2 separate regions of the Homo sapiens genome follow, and region 2 is linked to region 1. The links are contacts of gene promoters, found by promoter capture Hi-C in human tissues and cell types (Jung and others, 2019). All regions are on one chromosome and are shown on one strand. The core of a region is centred on a gene start or on the middle of the fragment in contact, and the rest is flanking DNA. Distances in the headings are between cores, read along the strand shown. Region 1 holds the start of NADSYN1 (NAD synthetase 1). Region 2 has its middle 30 kb from the start of DHCR7.

Evidence for each region. Contacts are between HindIII fragments. The study calls those that stand out against the background at their distance.
Region 2: a fragment that was not itself captured here is called in contact with the fragment with the promoter of NADSYN1 in region 1 in 1 of the 25 tissues and cell types used here (thymus).

What each region holds. Positions count from the first base shown.
Region 1 is chr11:71,451,903-71,454,583 of GRCh38, forward strand. It overlaps NADSYN1 (NAD synthetase 1), which reads left to right and starts at 1,301. Exons shown (of 21, transcript NM_018161.5): 1 at 1,301-1,479. The coding sequence starts at 1,395. It overlaps DHCR7-DT (DHCR7 divergent transcript), which reads left to right. Exons shown (of 2, transcript NR_186309.1): 2 at 1-255. RefSeq lists enhancers at 1-19, 140-219, 1,457-1,958, 1,959-2,458 and a silencer at 1,030-1,399. The HindIII fragment of the contact is 4,997 bases long and covers 1-2,681 here.
Region 2 is chr11:71,416,770-71,419,450 of GRCh38, forward strand. It overlaps the pseudogene ACTE1P. Among named protein-coding and RNA genes, the nearest start is that of DHCR7, 30 kb to the right of the region's middle. The HindIII fragment of the contact is 3,115 bases long and covers 1-2,681 here.

The sequences.
Region 1 (2,681 bases), core at 51-2,550:
ATATATTACATGCTTTGCTCAATAAGAGGGCATGTGTCAGGACCACCTTCATGAATATTCATAGCTCCTCCTGTTACCTGTTGAATATGTATGTTTAGCCAATCCCTTCAGCATAGCGCTCCTGCCCCAACCCCTCCTCCTTGGACGTGCCTGTCTCTGGCCTTGGCTGGAGACAGATTCCCAGCCTCAGACAGATGGCCGCCACCTTGCAGGCTACGACCGTTTACAAGAAATAAAGCCTTCTCTTTTTCCAAATTTGTGAATTGTGTGTTTTTAAACTAACATGAATGACAGAAGGAAGGATGGCCTCTTCAAGCAACGATGATGAGGCAGTTATTTATATGGGGGAAAAATGGATTCTACCGTGGGTGGACTAAAGAGGAAATGTGAAAAAATAAAAAGTGAGAAACCGCTGGTAGTGAATCGGTGCAAGCGCCCTGGAGAAGAGACTTGGCAATATTTAGTAAAGTCAAACAGCACGAACCCTACTACTCTGCAAAGCTGCTGCAGGAACTGGCGGAACGAGGTCACGAAGGAAACCTTGCCGGAAAGGAAATTGCAGCAGTGCCTGTGTGCGTGCGTCTGTTGGCAAAACGCTGCTAATAACGTCAATGCCCATCCGCTATTGAATAAACCTGCTTTACTGCCACTATGGAATACCAAACTGCAGAAAAATAATTAAAAGAACGTATCTCATATTACAGGGGAAAAAATCAAGTTGCAGAAGCACATTCAAGTGCAGTTCCTGTAGTTTCAGAAAAGGCAAACAGTGCGCTACCTGAGCTACTTACACACGTGGTACAGGAGTGAAAGGGGCAGGAGAGGGTTCCCAAGAATTCAGCGCCATCCGCCCAGGGTGGCGGGATTCCCAGCACGGAGAATCGATTGCTATCGTCTGCTGTCCCGCGGGCACGATGGAGCGCTCCTACCGTACTCTCCACTTTTGGTGTATTTGGAACGTTTCATGCCGTATTAAAATAAAACATGGCTAAGCTGGATGTGGGGTGGCGGTGTGGGATAAAATAGAGGGGTGCTGCAGCTGGGCGGTGAGCCCCCTGCACCTGTGCACCTGAACGGGTTTGCCCGCAAGGGCCGGGCCGGGGCCGGGGCCTGGGACGTGGGTGGAGCCGGGGCGGGGGCGGGGCCCTTCGCGGTGCCGTGAACGCTGAGGCCACCTCGCTGCGCAGGCGCGGTCGTGAGCTCCTCAGACGGGGCGGGGCGATCCGTAGGCAGGGCCTGACGCCGCAGTCCTCCTTGGCCGGAGCCTCAACGGATGGGCGGGGAGGGGGCGGGGCCGGGCAACCCGGAAGGTCCGGCGTCCCAGCCGCCTACCTCGCTGGGACCCTGGTCTTGCTGTCCCCCGCTGGCCTCCTGCCCAAGCGACTGCGGCCAGGATGGGCCGGAAGGTGACCGTGGCCACCTGCGCACTCAACCAGTGGGCCCTGGACTTCGAGGGCAATTTGCAAAGAATTTTAAAGAGTGAGTCTGGGGCGGCGGGGGCACCGGTTTGGGGTGGCGCACGGGCACCGTGGCTGGGCCCAGGCTTGCCCGTGGCGTGCTCACAGCCTTGCCCTGGGAAACTCTCGGCCCTGGGCATGGGATCAGGTGAGATAATGGGCAATGACCCCGCCAGTGGTACGTGCTCAGGTCCTCGTCGGGAAGTGAGTGTTTATAGTTCCCGGGGACGAGCGATATACAAGGCACGGTTAAGAAAAGTCTGGCGGCTTAGGCGGGAGGCCTGGGGATGGACCCGTGTTCTGATATCTCTGGGGTCCCGTGGTTGGGACTGAGCTGCCCATTCTCGGAGATATCTAAGTTGAACAGAATGGCTGCGCACTGGCGGGGATGGTGTGCAGAGGCCAGAGATTGATGGTCTCTGGTCCCCGTGGGCCTTCCTGGTGGGAGAAGGCGTCCCAGAAAGGGAAGTAGAAAAAGACGCCTGTCATCCCAGCATTTTGGGGGGGCCGGAGGGGGTGGAAGTCACCTGAGGTCAGGAGTTCAAGACCAGCCTGGCCATCATGGTGAAACACCGTCTCTACTAAAAATACAAAAATCAGCCGGGCGTGGTGGCCTCGAAGATAGGGTGTGGTTGTTGAAAGGTCACCATCTAATTTTCGTTCATATGGACGCACCGTGGAGGATGAAAAGTTAAACTATTACACCTGCACCTAAATGGGCAAGCCTGCAGGTGTAGTCAGGTTGCAGCTTGTCTTGCACTGGTCTGCTGACTGCAAGAGCCTTTGCCAGGAACAATAGAAACAGAATGTTTCAAGAGATGGCATCTAATCAGTATGTGCCCTGGATTATTATTATGATTATTATTATTTGACATGGACTGTCACTCTGTTGCCCTGGCTGGAGTGCAGTGGTGTCATCTTGGCTCACTGCAGTCTCTGCCTCCTGGGCTCAAGCGATTCTCCTGCCTCAGCCTCCTGAGTAGCTGGGATTACAGGCGTCTGCCACCATGCATGGCCAATTTCTGTATTTTTAGTAGAGACAAGGTTTCACCATGGTGGCCATGCTGGCCTCGAACTCCTGACCTCAAGTGATCCACCTGCCTTGGCCTCCCAAAGTGCTGGGATTCCAGGCATGAGCCACCGCAGCCAGTGGTTTTTTATTTTTATTTTTTAAATATCAACCTGCTTTCACCTCATTTGCTCAGAGCAAATCTAGTTGAACTG
Region 2 (2,681 bases), core at 104-2,603, 35 kb before region 1:
ACGGTTGTTGAAAGCTATAAAGCCTCAGTAAGGTTGTGCTACACTGACCTGCATCTGTACTCTAAACAAATGGTCCTTCCCAGACCTCCATGGTCTGCTTTCAACTCGCTCAAAGTCATCCACTCACCAATACAAAGATGGAAAACACAGAGAAGCTAAGGGGATTGTTGAAAATCACACTGTAATGGTCTGAACCAGAGGCTGGCAAACAAAAGCCCAGAGGCTAATTCTGGCCCACTGATTGTCTTTGTAAATTAAGTTTTATTGGAACTCAGTCACACTCATTTGCACCCTGTCTCTAGCTGCTCTTGGGCTACTACGGCAGAGTTGAGTAGTTGAGAACATGTGGCCCACTGTACTAGTCTGTTCTCGCACTGCTGTAAAGAAATGCCTAAGACTGGGTAATTTATAAAGAAAAGAGGTTTCGGGCCGGGCGCAGTGGCTCACGCCTGTAATCCCAGCACTTTGGGAGGCTGAGGCGGGCGGATCACGAAGTCAGGAGATTAAGACCATCCTGGCTAACACAGTGAAACTCTGTCTCTACTAAAAATACAAAAAATTAGCCAGGTGTGATGGCACACGCCTGTAGTCCCAGCTACTTGGGAGGCTGAGGCAAAAGAATCGCTTGAACCCTGGAAGCGGAGGTTGCAGTGAGCTGAGATTGCACCGTTGCACTCCAGCCTAGGCTCCTGAGACTCTATCTCAAAAAAAAAAAAAAAAAAAAAGTAAGAAAAGAAAAAAGGTTTAATTGGCTCGCAGTTCTGTGGGCTATACAGGAAGTGTGGTGCTGGCTTCCAGGTAGGCCACAGGAAAGTTACAATCATGGTGGAAGGTGAAGGGGAGGCAGGGTCATCCTAATGGCCAGAGGAGGAGGGAGAGAGAGGAAGGAGATGCCACACACTTTTAAACAACCAGATCTCATGAGAACTCTATCAGGAATAGCACCAAAGGGGGGTATTCCACCCCCAGGATCCAATCACCTCCCAGCAGGCCCCACCTCCAGCATTGGGGATTACAATTCCACATGAGATTTGGGTGGGGACACAGATCCAAACCATATCACCCACAAAACCTAAAATATTTCTTATGTGACCCCCTTGTAGAAAAAGTCTGACAACCCCTCATCTAGACTGTATCCCTTAACACTGTGACAACAGTTCTCAAAGTGCGGACCCCAGACCATCAAAATTAGCTTCATTTGTTAGAAATGCAGTCCGCAGTCCTCATCCCAGATCCCCTGAATGAGAAACGCTGGGTGGGGGCCCAGCAATCTTAGTCTAAGAAGACCCCCAGGTAAGTCTGATGCCCTCCAGTCGAAGATAAGACAAGAAAACCACCACCTTCAGTTACAGAAATCTGTTGTGATTGTTGACTCTCCAGTCTGAAAAGCGTGTTCTCGTGTCCTCACTCTAGCCTTTCAGGGAGGAAGAATTGCTCTCAAGTCCCATTTTACTAGTTTAATCTGCCCTTAGCAAGATTGGAGGCAGCTGAGAGCCACTCAGTAAAACGCTGGCAGCCCCCAGGAGCTGGCAGTGGGAGACACGGGATGACTGTTCCTTCCAAAATAAATGGAGGGTTTACAGAAGGCATACAGGATATGTGGCGTGCTGCTGTGACACACAATCAGTCCTAGCCAAACCAAGCCCTTACATTTGAGTACCAAAGTCTGGGTGAAATAACCACCTCATCCTGGTTTGGTTTTTTCCAGTTTCAACATTGAAGAAGCCATGTCCCCAAAAACTTCTCAGTCCTGGTCAAACTGGGACAAGTCCTAGGCCTGGGATGTAAAAGGCCAGGCTTTCCTGCAAAGAGCAGGTAACATGGTGGCCGATCCCGCCCACAAGCATCCACAGATGCTTCCTACAGGTGCTGGAATGAAGAGCTGGAAGCAGCCCAGTGCTCAGGGAGTCAAGGCATGGCTGGGTAAATACAAAGGCAGCTACCACCCAGTGTGGGGCACCGCCAGTAGCATTCCCAGGAGCCCCGGGAGCTGCAGGGGTCACGGGGGCATCTGAGCCAGCAGTGCAGTGGCACATGGGCATCAGCCTGGATCCCGTACCCTGGGACAGTCCTCTGCCTTGAGTCACTGTGTTCCAGACCCGACGTCTCTCACTACAGCTGTCACTTGTCATGCCTCCCACTCTACTTTCCACACCAGCTGCAGTTCTCTGGGTGGGGCTGAGCATCTGCGGTTCATTCACCCTTACAGCTTCTAGAAAGCCACACTGCAAACCCTATCGGCCAGATGAGAGCTTCCCCAGATCTAAGCTTCTCTGTCTCCCCAGGGCTGCACCCTGAGATACACATGCAGAAAGGATTATTTCTATTTTTATTTTATACTATGTTATTATGATATAAAACAAGATATATGTAATGTATATAAATGTTAGGGATGACTTTTTTTTTTTTTTGAGACAGAGTCTGGCTGCGTTGCCCAGGCTGGAGTGCAGTGGAACCATCAAAGCTCGCCGTAGCCTTGACCTTCCAGGCTCAAGCAATCCTCCCACCTTAGTATCCTGAGTAGCTGGAACTACAAGCATGCACCACCACACCTGGCTAATATTTTGTATTTTTAGTAGAAACAGGATTTCGCCATGTTGCGCCAGCTGGTCTCAAACCTCAGCCTTAGCTTCCCACAGTGCTGGGATTACAGGCCTGAACCATCACACCTGGCCTTATTT